Regions from separate parts of the Homo sapiens genome. Here regions 1, 2 and 4 are each linked to region 3. Evidence: promoter capture Hi-C in 16 types of primary human blood cells and fetal thymus (Javierre and others, 2016). All regions are on one chromosome and are shown on one strand. The core of a region is centred on a gene start or on the middle of the fragment in contact, and the rest is flanking DNA. Distances in the headings are between cores, read along the strand shown. Region 1 holds the start of BMX (BMX non-receptor tyrosine kinase). Region 2 overlaps NHS (NHS actin remodeling regulator). Region 3 holds the start of CTPS2 (CTP synthase 2). Region 4 has its middle 5.3 kb from the start of CA5BP1-CA5B.

Evidence for each region. The method cuts DNA at HindIII sites, captures the fragments that hold promoters and counts their contacts. A CHiCAGO score of 5 or more calls a contact.
Region 1: a fragment that was not itself captured here is called in contact with the fragment with the promoter of CTPS2 in region 3 in 1 of 17 cell types (total B cells); the score reaches 6.1 in total B cells.
Region 2: a contact is called between a fragment that was not itself captured here and the fragment with the promoter of CTPS2 in region 3, in 1 of 17 cell types (total B cells). The highest score is 5.3, in total B cells.
Region 4: a fragment that was not itself captured here is called in contact with the fragment with the promoter of CTPS2 in region 3 in 1 of 17 cell types (naive CD4 T cells); the score reaches 5.2 in naive CD4 T cells.

What each region holds. Positions count from the first base shown.
Region 1 is chrX:15,499,069-15,503,387 of GRCh38, forward strand. BMX (BMX non-receptor tyrosine kinase) reads left to right here and starts at 1,739. Exons shown (of 19, transcript NM_203281.3): 1 at 1,739-1,872. The HindIII fragment of the contact is 463 bases long and covers 2,521-2,983 here.
Region 2 is chrX:17,732,475-17,735,339 of GRCh38, forward strand. NHS (NHS actin remodeling regulator) reads left to right here. Exons shown (of 9, transcript NM_001291867.2): 9 at 1-2,865. Among named protein-coding and RNA genes, the nearest start is that of SCML1, 3.6 kb to the right of the region's middle. The HindIII fragment of the contact is 569 bases long and covers 1,147-1,715 here.
Region 3 is chrX:16,710,830-16,714,771 of GRCh38, forward strand. It overlaps CTPS2 (CTP synthase 2), which reads right to left and starts at 1,840. Exons shown (of 19, transcript NM_175859.3): 1 at 1,506-1,840. RefSeq lists silencers at 1,293-1,562, 1,623-1,712. The HindIII fragment of the contact is 10,682 bases long and covers 478-3,942 here.
Region 4 is chrX:15,668,066-15,672,265 of GRCh38, forward strand. It overlaps a transcript of CLTRN not described here. Among named protein-coding and RNA genes, the nearest start is that of CA5BP1-CA5B, 5.3 kb to the right of the region's middle. The HindIII fragment of the contact is 3,095 bases long and covers 1-2,945 here.

The sequences.
Region 1 (4,319 bases), core at 1,502-4,001, 1.2 Mb before region 3:
CGACTGTATTAGTCCATTTTCATACTGCTATGAAGAAATACTCAAGACTGGGTAATTTATAAAGGAAAAGAGGTTTAATGGACTCACAGTTCCATATGACTGGGGAGGCCTCACAATCATGGTGGAAGGTGAAAGAGGAACAAAGGCATGTCTTACCTGGTGGCAAGCAAGAGTGCGTGTGCAGGGGAACTGCCCTTTATAAAACCATCAGATCTGGTGAGACTTATTCACTGTCATGAGGACAGCACGGTAAAAACATCCACTCCCGTGATTCAATTACCTCCCACTAGGTCCCTCCCACAACATGTGGGGATTATGGGAACTACAATTCAAGATGAGATTTGGGTGAGGACACAGCCAAACCATATCACCAACTCCTCCTTCCCCTACCCTAAGTTTACTTTTTATTCTAGAATCGAACTTTTGCCATATTACCATATATAAGTTGTGAAGTAAATACAAATCGCCATGTGGAAAAGGAAATTAACTAGCAGAGTGTAGAATTAATTTATTTAGCCAGGTTGTTGTGCCACTCTTGCCCTGCTTCACCCTTAATTTTTTGAATGACTACCTACTATATTCCTAAAGAATGGAGAGCTATTTGGAATCCATCAGTGACTTTAATTTGCTATTAGAATGTAAGTTACACTCTTTTGAATTCTTCTGAAGGACTCCTTTCCCTTCCCAAAATTCTAGTTTCCAAACTGAAATATTAAAAAATATTTCTGCAAGTTATTTTTCCCATACTCTACTGTAATTAAACCACTATTTGTGGTTCCCCCCCCCCCCACACAGACACATAAGCCCCTTGAAGATGTGGGCTGCCTCTCTTCTGTTTGCTCTTGTGTCTCCAACCCCTAACGGAATGCTCAGCACATGGCAGGTTCTCAAATAAGACTTGACTGAACGAATTAATAGAAATGATGCTAATTCCATGTACACTCAAAAGAATACCTCTTTGAAAGCCAGTAGCTTCACTCTCTTCTGCCAACCCAAGACTTCTTCACATCATAGATACTTACAAATAAGTTACAGTAAGCAACAATTTATAAGTAAACACAGTGTGTCAATGCATGCCAAAAGGATGATTACTTTTCTTGGCTATCCATAGCAGGACATAAAATATGTCCTTAGATTTATTACAGATGGCCAGCCGGTATGCACCAGAGAAAATAGTGGAATGGGGGAAGCCAAAAGTTGTGAGTCTGTCATAATGATGTCAAGTGACACACTTTTTCATTGCGATCTAGGTGTACCATACCTTAGCAAAAACAATCTATTTTCCATTTCTGGATTTCTTAATAACTTAAACTATATAAATAAGCTCCTTTTCCATCATATGAACTGTTCTTACATATTCTCTGGCCTTCCTTTGTCCAAATGTTGAGTTGAAGTTTTCATTGCATATTCTCTGTGCACTTTGCATTACCTAATGGTTTCCTGGCTCATGTGAGAGAAGTCAGCGTCAGCAGTCGGGTTTTGCCGAGATATTTTCTTGTCCTTTCCAGCATAGAGCTCTACAAACAAAGGCAGGGTTATCACATGTACCCGAGAGCTGCCTGGGAAAAGTGGGAGCTATAGTTATCAAAATTGGAAACTTTATGAAGTATGCTTTTGTCTCCGTTTTTGTTGCGTTCAATCAGATCAACAAGTGTTGGCTAAGTGTTGAGCGTGGTTTCCTGTGGGATTGTGTAAGGCTCTGTAGGACAATAAACGTGTTGGGGGCACTGAGTAATGTAGCCATTTCTGACCCGGCAGCCAGGAAAATGTGAAACAATTTGCTTCTGGAAACAGGACAGCCGGGGCCGTGTTCCTGCAACAGCAGACCAAGCACCGCGGCGGACCCAGGCAAGCACGGAACAAGCTGAGACGGTGCGTTTAAGCGGCAGGTGGCTACTCAGTGTCGCATACTATGCGGAAAATAGGTTTGGTTCCCGGTGTTGTGGGGCCTGAAGTTACAAACTTTGGGAAGCTCACTTTAAGAAAAATAGTACAACATTTTTAATATGAAATTGCCAGGGCTTTCTCTGGGACTTTAGATGGGACCAGGTAATTTGGAGGCCAACGGCTGAAACTGCTATAATTTCACTGTAAATTCACTCCTTGCTCAAAATCTCAGTTAGGGAAGCTCTCAGGTTGTTTATGTATCACCACCAGTTCTACCTAGCTTTGTGTGTATTCTCTGCTAATTTTCTCCATCCGCTTCTTTAGGTATTGCCTTTCCATAGCCTTTCATATTGGCCTCATAACTGCTTCCAAAGAGACATAGAAATGTTCCTTATACCTTCTTTAACTGTGTTTTTATGATGTTACTTTAGCTACAAATATTTGCTCTTAGGTTCCTGAGGTCTCCCTAAATCAAGTGCTTTGTGTATTTTAGATGGAGATAGACAGGTGGGAGGGAGGTGAACCATGCAGTTGTACTCATATCCATATAATTTTGAAAGATTTTGTGGGCCACAATGATTTCATTGGATTTGAAAAGGAGTGCAACTTTGTGGTCCATGTAAGTGCTTCTCAAGCTTTCCTGTGCACGTGGATCACCTGGGGATCTTGCTAAAATGAAGATTTGGCTGCGCGAGGTCTCGGGTGGGAACTGAGAGTCTGCATGTCTAATGATCGCCCGGATGATGCAAGTGCACGGACCACACTTTGAGTCACATCCAAGTATTTATTTGTAGGAAATATGGTGGCACAAATACACAGTCAATAAGGGTATGGTTCAACCTCATTTTATGGTAACTCGTCTCAGGATGGAAAGTCTGCGACAAACCTACTATGTATGGACTGGTGTTTGTTGACATGGCAATACATGAGGAGGTCTTCCTGCCTCCCATTTTCTCCTATACCCAGGAGCTGGGGACAGAGGGATGAGAAGTAAAATTTTATCATTAAGGATCATTATTATTTCACTGTCTTTAGTTTTTTAACTTTTTATGGTCCTTTTTAAAACTTTGCCTATGGAGTGATCAGAAGGGACATAAGCTTTTAGAATATCTACTAGGGTGTTGGGCATTAGGCTGCCATTTTCTCTTGACTACTTGTAACCCTTCGAAGTGGTTATTGTTTCACTGCCTTTACAGATGGGGAAGCTGAGGTTTAGCTGGGTTAAGTAACATGACAGATTCCATAGAGACAGAGCAGGGATTCGAACCCAGCTCGGTGCTTTCACTTGCACTAACCGGCATCATGAAAGCAGTGTTACATGTTTAATTCAGCATGAGATGCTAGCTCATGGATTTATTACTTTTTGCTTTTCTCCTAAGGAAGTTGCCCAGAGAGAGTGCCCTAAGCAGAGGAGAGGGAGCAGAAAGAAAGAGGTTACTGAAAAGAAGAAAAGACTTAGAAAAGCTCTATGGGGCACTGAAGATTAATCTCACACCTAAAGCAAAACTTAGCTCCAAAAAGACTAGCATTAAGATTCTTGCCTTCTTTGTGAGAAAATGATCTTCCCAAAGTGTCTGGTTTTTATACACTTATTTTGGATCAATTAAGGTATGATGCTCCAAGATGCTGAGAATTTGACTGTCAATGTTAAAAGATTTCTGTCCATATCATGCCAAGATCAACTTTAACTTTCCCTCTCCTGCATAACATCATGTGAAATAAGGATCTGTCAGGTTCTGTGAAGCCAGTATTTGTCTTTGGCCAGCATCCTAAGACTTTTTGAACCACTTTACTTGATCCTCAGTCAAACTTTTTGTTCTTGTTTAAACCTACCATCACATTTTGTTCAGTTATTTAGCACGAAGATAAGCGGGCCTGGCATTTGGACAAATATTTGAAGATCAAGTTTGTCACAGGGCCCTCCAGTTTCCCTTCCAGATCCCACCCCACTTGGAGCGTCTTCCCTTTCTTTCCCACCCTTCCTGCTCTACTGCCCTCCCACCACATGTATTATTTTAACATCTTGACACCTACAAAATCTTTAGCTATATGGCATGTAAAGTAAGAGAGGATAACTAAACCAAGTCAAAGGGTAAGGAATTGCTATCCTTATCTCTGAATTTTAAAAGATAAATCTTTAAAGACACCACCCTGAGCCAGTCAGGGAATACACTTCCTGGTTGAGGGAACTATCCAATGGCCACTTAACTAGATAACCCTGTCTCCCTTGGTATCCTGTTTCCTGCTCCCCTTCTGTACCACTGAGAATTTATTCCAACTTTTGAGGTTGTATGTTCTTACCTATTTTCAGAATGTGGTTTCAAATTTTGCTATTTAACACTGCCTTTCAGCAGGAGATTCCTATCGAAAGATTATAGGTAACATCTTTCTGATATTTCCAATAAAATGTCTCTTGCACTGGTCTGTTAAGA
Region 2 (2,865 bases), core at 181-2,680, 1.0 Mb after region 3:
CCAGGCTGCCTGGCAAAGGCCAAAACCCTTACTCACATGAGGATGGAGGAACAGAACAGAGGACTTGGGAAAAGTCTCAACTTGATGGGGTAGCATCACTGCTAAGCAATGAATGAATTTCTAAATACAGTATGTGCTGGGTAAACAGAAAGTGGTTTAGACATTCTTGATTAGTTTCCATATTTTAAGTAGCTGCAGTCTTTCATGTTTTTCTTTAGCATAGTTTGATTTACGCAATCTCCTTCCTTGTGAAAATAGAGGATACAAAATTGTCTAATTTTCATGACACCTAGAAAACGTTTTCCCAGAGCTGCCTATTCAGAAACTAAAGCCCTCACTGTCATTATTCTTTAAGAAGATGAAATTACTCTGGATGTTTGGTATTTTTTTACATTAAAACAAACTAAAGCAAAATTTAGAAGAAAGAACTACACATATGTAAATACCATATTTTTGATAAAAATGTGTAAATAGATTTATCAATGATGAGTGGACATGTGGTCAATTATCTACTGCACACCAACTGTTTATAGAATACACAAAAATAAAATGTAATAACTGTATTCTGTGAATACCATTTTCATATCAAATGCCATATTTAAATGTCCACCAATATGATTTCTGAGTGGTAAACCTCAAATATGAATTTTAAACTGGTGAACTAAAGGAAATCTTGAGGTCATATACTGAAATATGAATAAATTAAAATAATGAATTCAGATCTAATCATTTTTATGACAAATTGCAGCACCAAACAAACTAATAGCAACCCATGGCTGTGATTTGTTGTGTGGTAATTTGGACAGAATGAAAAGCATGCTTTTGATTTTTTTTTTAATCAGTGAGAGAAGTCATCATTCTCAACACAAAGCCCTGAACAACAGCATTTGACAGTGTCCTTTAGATTTTAATTTTTTCAATGGATTGCTTTAAAGAGAATGAGTAGGGAAAATAGTAGTTAATTTTAGGTTATGTTTTATATTAGGCTACTGGGGACATAAACGGTCATAACTAATGACTGTAATCATTAAACTCCTTAAACAGTTTAGAAATTAGCTCCAGGTTCTTAAACTAACAAAAATAAAACCTAAGCATGCCACAGAGCTATTGATTAATCAGTAAGTACCTGTAATGAGTTTTCAGTGAAGCTTTCTCTCTGTGCTGATGAGATTCATGCTACCTAAAAATTAACAGAAATGACACTGTGAACAATGTAGTTGGAAAATAGGTATGTGTATATGCATTATTTATACTCATTGTTAAACTGGGAATGGGGAACAGCTCTGGTTCACAATACTACATACAACTGAGTTTTTGTCTGGTTTTACTATAGTGTCTGCTTGATGGCAAAAGGGGAGGGTGGAGGGTGGGAGAGGAAATGTCAGGGCATGTGCTCTGATAAAATAAAGGCAGGGAAACAAGCTGAATTACTTGAAATTACTTGAATTTTCTTGTCTTAAAACTGAAAAAAAAATGTAGTTACACGTTAAAATCTGCAAATGGTTTTTACACCTCTGATTTTAACATGAACTTATACTAATGTTTGGAATCTTATGTCAGAAATATAAGCAGCTATGTACTTAGAATAGGTTTTGAATGGGAGAGGTAGAACAGAGAGAGAATTAAGAAGGGATCTGACTTATAAAAGACTAGAATGTGATTAGAGTGATAGAACATACCAATGTTACCAAGAAATTGACAAGCTGCTGGCTTTAAGCTTATGCAAGTGGTAGTTGGGAAAGTAGGAGGTGTGGAAGAGGGTTTGCATTTTGGATTAATTCATGCAAAATGAAGGAGGAAGCCTGGTCTAAGAAGATACTGTCTTTCAATAGAAATGATTTCTAAACTGCTACAGATTAAGAATAGATAATCTGATTGCTGTTGTTTTGTTTGTTTGGAAAGAAAAAAAATGTCTGGCTTCTTCTACTATTTGTTTTCACTACCAAACTGTGTTACTAAATTTCTTGTCATCCTTGTATGTAAAATGGGTGCTGGGGGTGGAGGGGTATAAGAGGAGGGAGAGTCAGAGAGAGTGTGTATGGGTGTGTGTGAGTGTGAGTGTGTGTGTACGCACACACACTGGGGATAGATAAGCTACCTGGTAAAGGGTTTGAACATTTACAAAATGTCACACTTTTTCTTAAAAGAAAAATATTTTGGGGTTTGAATAAAATGGACCACCATTTCTCATTGGAACCCATTAATTAAGAAAACCAGCATGGTTTGACACCACATGGGAACATGAATAAATCTGTCTCATGATTTGAAAAGTACACCTTGCAAAGTTTTAAAAATAAAGTTTTTAGGCAAATGCGATAAGAAACCGTCATTTCCAGTCACAGTAGGCGATCTTTCGTAATTTCATAAAAGCAGTTCGTTTGCAGTATGGCTTTTGTGTAGTTAGGGGTTTTTTAAGTGTGAAGAAAGGTATGTGGGCTTTAAAAGTGATTCTAAATCTTGAATAGAAAACACATGAATTGGCTTTAATAAAAATGTCACCTTTTTATTATTGACATTAAGTAATGGTACCATATATTTTTTAAAATACATATTGACTTGAATTGTGAGGCAATAAGATACCTTCTATATGTAATGATCACAGAACTAACCCTTATAATATAGTTTTACTTATTTTGTTTACTCTAAAAATCTATAGCAGAGTTTCTCTATTTTATATTTCATAGATTTAAAAAACCCAAATAAAGATGGATTTAAAATTCACTGTGGAAAAGAGTATTGAGTTACAAACTGAGAAGAAAAAGCAGGAAGTTCCCTAATAATCTGGAATATTCTACATGGCTTGATTACATAGCAAACAAGACCAAGATTTAGGGCTGTCTTTAACATCACTGCCGTCTTGAAGCA
Region 3 (3,942 bases), core at 590-3,089:
GATGGTCTTGATCTCTTGACCTCGTGATCCGCCCACCTCGGCCTCCCAAAGTGCTGGGATTACAGGCATGAGCCACCATGCCCGGCCCTCTACTTCTTTTAAGCACACAAGTAAGTTTAACAAAGTTTCAAAGGTTCAGGGAAAGGCTGGCCCTGTTTTAGATCACTTCCTCCATTGAGGATTGTTTCTGGTGTCAAGACAAGTTTTTCATTTACTCTTACATGCAGTGAGCAGAACCAAGTGTTTATAGGATAGCACAGTGTAGAGCTGTGCTGTCTCCACTACCTAATAAAAAATATTACACAGCCAGGTACGTAATTTTAAGTTTCTAGTAGCCATATTAAAAAAGTAAAAAGAATCAAATGAAGTTCATGTTAATATATGTTATTTAACCCAATGTAGCCAAAAATGTTATCACTTTTAACGCACAATGTAAGAATGTATTAGTGAGATATTTGACATCTTTTTTGTGTACTAAGCTTTCAGAAATCAGGTGCCTGTACTCAGAGCACATCTCAGTACGGATTTTGCCACATTTCCAGTATTCAATAACCACATGTGACCAGTGGCTCCCACATTAGACCAGGCAGGCCTAGAGCAAATAAAAGCACCGGAAGCACCCAGAGACACCTTCTCAGTGATGGCCATTTAAAAAGTAATGTTAGACACAAAAGAGTACTTACCTGATGATCTTGTTCTATGAAGTTCTAGAACAGTCAAAGCTAAGCTATGATAACAATCAGAACCGGGGTTGAGTGCGGGGCCTGGGGTGGATTGACAGAAAGGAGGTACCAGGGAACTTTGCAGGGTGAAGGAAATGGTCAATGTTCACTTTGGGATAATGGTTACAGGAGTGTATAATTTGTCAAATCCCGTCGATTTGCACACTGAAAATGGGACATTTTGTTGTATATAAACCATACATACAATTCTTTTTTATGTTGCCCCCAAAAAAGCTATTCTGTAGCAGCAGCGTAGTTCGGCACTATGCGCCCTAACCATCTAGTACGGGGAAAACGCGGGGGTCGTTGTTTAAGGGGTGCACTGGGACCGGGGAGAGGACAGAAAGGCCATGTTACCGGCGCTGATCACCAGCCTCGCAGACCCCCGCTCGGGGCTTCACTTCCGCCAACGCCATCTCAGGGCTCTCCTGGCTCCCGAGGGCCGGGAGAAGTGGGGATCCGGGTGCGGGCGCTGGCGCGGGCGGAGGCGGGAAGAAGCGCGTCCCGGGGACGCGCGGGACAGGCTCCAACCGCACTGGGCACGGGCCAGCGTTCCCCAGTCCCCGCGCCACACCCGGCAGCCGAGGTCTGCGAGCGCGGGGCTGGCGGCCGGACCCGACTCAGCGCTGGGCAGGGAGCCGGCGCCATCAGAGAGCGGACAAAGGAGCCCGGCCCCACAAGTGCACCGGGGCTGGGGGTGCAGGGCGGAGAGGCCCTGGGGACGAGGGATGGCCCGGGCGCCGAGGCCCTGGGGGTCTGGGACAGGCCCAGAAGGGAAGTTACCTGCGCGGTGGTGGTAGCACCGGGGAGGGTGGCCGGTGGGCACGGCGGGCTCCACCCCGCGGCTGGCCTGGCGCTCACCTGTCGGGCTGGGGAAGGGGTCGCTGCCGGGGCTGTCCAAAGCCGCCCCCGGGATCTTCCCACCGCCCACACGGGCCTCGGGGTGCGCGGCGCCCTCCTCGCCCACCTTCCCCTCTCCTCCCTGCTGCTGGCCCAGCTCACTCACGCTGGTGAGCTTGGGGTTTGCACCCGGGTTTGTGCAATGGTCCAAAACAAGCGCCTAAAAAGTGATTCCTCCAGCACAGGCAGCTCCCGTCACCCTCCGCTCTGGACGCACTGGGCCCCAGGCCTCGCCCAGCCCGGGGACCGCTCCTCCCTCCCGTGGCTCACTTTGCAAAGGCACTTCGAGTGCGCGGGTGAACTCCACGCTTCCCGGGGAACCCCGGCTTCCTGGCAAGCCGAGACCCTCGCTCGGGTCCTCCCGTGCAGATCTCACCCTTGTAAAGAACTTCACTGGTCACAAACGCTTGTGGATCCCCTACTACGCCCCAGGAACTGCAGGAGCGCTCAGGAGAGAAGGAAAAGGAAAGAGAATGCCTGCCTTTGAGGAGCTAGCTCACAGTCTGGTGGGAGGTCCACCCGTCTGTTGGAACCAGTAAGGTTCCCTAGAACAATACTTCTGCAGCAAAGAGTTGCGGGGGTGCAGTGAGGGGAGGAAGGCAATTAAGGCTTCCAAGAGTGACTTTTTTTTTTTTTTTTTTTTTGAGACGGAGTTTCGTTCGCCCTTTTTGCCCAGGCTGGAGTGCAATGGCGCGATCTGGGCTCACTGCAACCTCCGCCTCCCGGGTTCAAGCGATTGTCCCTGCCTCAGCCCCCGGAGTAGCTGGGATTACAGGCGGATGCCAAAAAGCTCGGCTAATTTTGCATTTTTAACAGAAACGGGGTTACATCACGTTGGCCAGGCTGGTCTCGAACTCCCGACCTCAGCTGATCCTCCTGCCTTGCCTCCCAAAATGCTGGGATTACAGGCTTGAGCCACTGCACCCCGCCCAAATACTCTAAAAAGTCACTCTTCGGGTGACTCACGCCTGTAATCCCAGCACTTTGGGAGGCCAAGGCAGGCGGATCACCTGAGGTCGGGAGTTCGAGACCAGCCTGGCCAACGTGGTGTAACCCTGTCTCTACTAAAAATGCAAAATTAGCCAGGTGTGGTGGCACCTGCCTGTAATCCCACCTACTCCGAAGGCTGAGGCAGAGAGAATCGCTTGAACCTGGGAGGCAGAGGTTGCAGTGAGCCGAGATCAGGCCACTGCACTCCAGCCTGGGTGACAGAGGAGACTTTGTCTCAAAAAAAAAAAAAAAAAAGAGTATTGGAGGATGATTGGTGCTGGGAACGGATACAGGAGGTTTTTCGGGTGAAGGCAAGAAGCCAACCACTGAAGGAAGCTAACATGGACAACAGAAGGGTCTGAAGTGAGATGGAAGGTTTTAGGAAAGTGGTGGAAATTTCGCATAACCAGTGTGAGATGCTAGAGCGACAAGTTAGACAAGAGTCACTGAAGACCTAGTGGAGTTTAGAAACCATCATCGTGTAGTGGTGTCCAGCTATAATCTGCTATAATCTGGCAAGGTATCTACAGAAATATAGCTCTTAGTTATGAAACCCAAGTTTCCTGCTTGCATAGAATAGAAGGACAAGAGGGTGAGGAGGTGGAGGGCACAGAAAGACTGCGATTGCAGTGATGGGCCAGAGCTCTAGTCCTAGAGGACAGGAACTGTTAATAAAACCAGCGGGGAGCTGATGGACTGGGAGACAGATGAGAGAAGGGCTCCAAGGCCAGGGCCTCTGAGGAGAGGACTGGCAAACTGGCAGCAGAGAGTGTGGTGCTGGAGTTCAGGCCTTCAAATGGATATTCCAGGAAATGAGACAGTTTGGGGTGTGGCAGCTACAATGGAATAGAAAAGTGAGATGGGCATCACTGGCCTTGGGTTTAGTGCCCACAAGGCTGGTATGTTGGACATCGAGGGTCCCAAAAGGATGGCAGGAGGTGGAGGAGTCAATCGAGGTCAAGGAACTTTAGAGAATTGGGGTTGCGGGGTGGGTAGTGAGCCTGAAACTAATAGATGACTGTGACAAGGAAAGGGAGAAGGTTGCAGAACAAATGTCAGTGCCTTTCAAGACACAATGGAGGCCTGGCGCCATGGCACACCCCTGTAATCCCAGCACTTTGAGAGGCTGAGGCAGGCAGATAGTTTGAGTCCAGGAGTTGGTGACTTACCTGGACAACATGGCAAAATCCTGTCTCTACAAAAAATACAAAAATTATCACGTGTGCTGGCATGCATCCCAGGGGAGGCTGAAGCAGGAAGGTCGCCTGAGCCCAGGAGGTCAAGGCTGCAATGAGCTATGACCGTGCCACTGCACTCCAGCCTGGACGAC
Region 4 (4,200 bases), core at 148-2,647, 1.0 Mb before region 3:
AGCAATAGAAATTCTGTATAGACAATATAGAGAAGCAAAAAAAAGTAGAAAACATCCATAATACTACCAGAATGGATGACCAATGCTAATATATTTTCATAGTTAGAATGCGCCTTCCTTAGCCTTGGATCTCTTTATATGTTCTTGTAGGATGTTGTTTTTTCTCACTGCAGTGGCACTATCAGAACAGAGTAATACAATGATGGGAATAAGACGCACCCTTGTCTTCTTCTTTACTCTAATAGGAATGCCACTACTGCACGGAATCTGGCAAGTGGCTTTAAAAATGATGTGTCATGTGATACGAGCATTATATTTGTAATTACAAAAAATTATTTTCCTCAGTAATTGGTGTTGCATTTTATCAACTGCTTTTCACTATTAAAATTTTTACCATTTGGTGTATTACATTAATACATTTTTCACATTGATTCAATTCTTAGATAAAACATTTTTTTAATTTATTTTTAGTATGCTGCTGGAATCAATTCCTGGTTTTTCCCCTATGATTTTTAAACCTATTTTCTTAAAAGAATATCAGGTAGGTTCCTTTTCAAGTGCTGATTCTTGAAGCGTTTTTTTTCCTAGCCTTTACCATCTTGAAAATGATACAGAAAGATTTCTAACATTGTCTATGTTTAGAAATACATATAATGTACCAGAAATAAAGAGTTCACAGATGAAGAATCTGGACCATGTGCATTTTAGAGGAAGAGTTCTTCAAAATTTTTCATTCCTTACATTATCATTTATTTCAGGTTTTATACCTCTTTCTGAATCCATTTTGGCTGTTTACAATTTCCAAGAAAATATTCTGTTAAGATTTTCTAGTATCCTCATGGACTTTATAGAGTATTTCCCATAAAATATCTACTTTTGTTGTTATGTTCTCTTTATATTTTCTAATACGTGTATTAATTTTCTCATTTTGATTATATTATCTTTGTTGTTTAATCAAAGAAGAAGATCTTGGACATAATTTGCAATTCTTTCTGTTTTTTGATTCATAAATCTTATTTATATTGGTTACATACTGTAACAAATTCATTGTTAAATAGTTTGATGGAGATCTCAGTAAAATAAATGGAAAACAGAACTAGATACTAGGGTTCTTGCCTCTCAGCATATTATATTTTCCTATACTTTTCAAAGTCTTGCACAAATTTAGTGCTTGTCTTGATGTACAAGTTTTAAGTAGTAAGTTTCCAGAGCCTTCATATCTGTATAAATTGCTTCATAAAATGCTCATTTCAGCAATTTCACATATGGGAGCTTCATAACTTATTAGTAACCATGGTAATGATGACAAATAAAGCAGTTCAATCATTCTGAATATGTTACTATTTACTTCCAAACGTTCAGAGTTTAGAGCATGTAGATTTAAAAGTTCAGATTACTGTTGCCATGAGCCACACAAAAGGGCACTGAGTCTCCTGAGATGGGAAAACGAAATTGATTTCTCCGTGTTTTTTATACTCCACAACACTCTTGAAAAGCACTTTCTGGGCACATAACTATGGATCTACTGCTCTGGGGTAAACAGAATATGAGATCACATGAAAAGAAAACACATGTGTCGTTCTTTTGATTCATGCAAGATCCCTTAAGTTCACTAGATTCGTATAAATACGTGGGCGTATGTAGGCTCCATTCACCTCCAATAAAGCAAGAGGTGGAGATGACCAATGTTTCTTTTAAAATTGACCCTGGTTATTTTGTTTCATTATCAAAAACAGAAATTTAGTAAATATATAGCTCCTAAAATTAGTAAACTGTAAAACCATCTCAAATGTGACATTATTCTGTATATTTTTATTGGATTTTCAGAAATGTTATCTGGCTGTGACACATTAAAAGAAATCAATTAAAACTTTTAATAATTGAACATAGAAACTTTGTATAAGATTTTAAAACTTCACACTTTTTGCTGCTGGGCATGGTGGCTCATGCCTGTAATCCCAGCACTTTGGGAGGGCGAGGCAAGCAGATTGCTTGAGTCCAAGAGTTCAAGACAGGCCTGGACAACATGGCGAAACCCCCTCTCTACAAAAAGTACAAAAATTAGCCAGGCTTGGTGGCATGCACCTGTGGTCCCAGCAACTTGGAAGGCTGAGGCAGGAGGATCACCTGAGCCCAGGGAGGTTGAGGCTGCAGTGAGCCATGATTGTGCCACCACACTCCAGTCTGTGTGACAGAGCGAGACTCTGTCTCAAAAAATAAAAAAAACAAAAACCAAAAACAAAACACACACACACACACACACACACACACACACACACACACACAAACCCCTTTGGAAGTTTTAATATCTTAATTAAATGGCTCTACTCAATGATTTCCTAAATGTTGTAGAATTTTAATAAATGACATCCTTCCTTGTTTAAATTGTAATGAAATGGATATACTATATATAATAAACAATATCAAGATGTTTGTATTATTAATAATTTATACAATGTTTTCAGTATAATTAGGCAACAAAAATAATTTTATTCTCTTTAAATTGTCAGTGTTAAGATACATGGAGAGACAAAGTATTTTTGTCTATTGTGTGTAAGTTCTATTTTAACTCAGTGGTTTTCAATTGGGGGTGATTTTGTGCTCCAGAGACACTTGGCAACGTCTGGTGACATTTTTAGTCATCATGAATGGCAGATGAGAGGATTCTACTGGCATCTAGTGGGTAGAGGCCAGGGATGCTGCAAAACACCCCCACAAACTTTAAAAATGTCATTTAGGTAACTCTTTTCTTCTTGTAGTTGAGTTAATGGAAATAACCCACACAAGGAAGAACAGAAGAAAAAAGGGAGACAAGTGTGTGTGTGTGTGTGTGTGTGTGTGTGTGTGTGTGTGTGTGTGTGTGTGTGTGTGTGGTTTCTCTAAGGCTAAGAATGTAAAAATATATACATTGCAATGCATTTCATGGTACTTAATTTCCAGTCACAAGCTTATTAGAACTTCAGTTTATGATTCAAATTAGTCAACTCAGTTTTCTTAAACTATCATATTCATGGGCTACGAGAAATGCAAAAATGAACCAAATATAGTCTCTGCCCTTCAGGAACTTACAATTTTGTAGGACACAAAAGTAAATCACGATGGCAATAGATGCACATACAATTGTGAACAAAATGCTATAGGAACACTGGAGAAAAAGAGGATAAAAAGTTACTGGATTTGACAAGTCAATTATAAAACTGTTAACAAAAGAAAAATAGAAGAAAGGTTTCTCAATGATAATCAAGATAGACCTGGAACAATGGCAAGATGTTTAAAGATAAAACATGAAAGCCCACAGGATACAAGTTAAGGAAATCTGAAAACAAACACAAAGGACAGATACAGGATATGGCCAACAGCAGGGACTTGCTGGTAGAGTGGTTCAGAGGAAGATGGGGGAGAGAGCATCAGTGTAGATGCATCTGAAAAGCCAAGTTGGGTTCTGATCTTAGAGGTCAGAGAGTCTGGATTCTCCAACAATGGTCCTGAGAGGCTAATGAAGATTTCAATGTGGGAATGGGTTCATTGTAAATGACACAGAGAAGGACAATGGGAGATGGGAAGGACATTCCCTGACAGTGAGTTTCCAATGTGCCCTTTATTTACTAATCACAGGCTGTTGGACTGGCAGCCCACTACGTGCCCATGACTACAAAAAACAGGAAATTATTTTTCATTGGCCATCTTAATAAAAAGATAAATGAGCTTATTTTAATAATAATTTTAGAATATAGAACAGATGATGTTACAATCTTTTGGTATGCTTAATTTTATGCGCGCACACACACACACACACACACACACACACACACACACACAATTTCCAGTATCCTTGGTAAGCAAGAAACTCTATAATGTGGAATATTTTTGTCTCCATCACATATATCCCCTTTTTAAGATGAGAAATCATATTAAGCAAGGATATTTGAAAAGCTCATCAAATTTTGTAGGTTAATCAGTAGCCATAATCATTATGAACTTTGTCTTATTCTTCACAAGTTAACATTTTTCTACTTCAGAGAAAGTTAATCACTACCGTTTGGAAATAAAAATTAATTCAGATCAACTGAGTGAGTGTAATTCTGCCAACTTTATGCTCCTAAAGTAGCAATTTAAAGGACAGTTTCTTAAATGGGAAAAAAAAAGTATGTGTGTCTGTGTGTTTCATCTTGTGCATGGAGACCAATGCTTTATAATGGG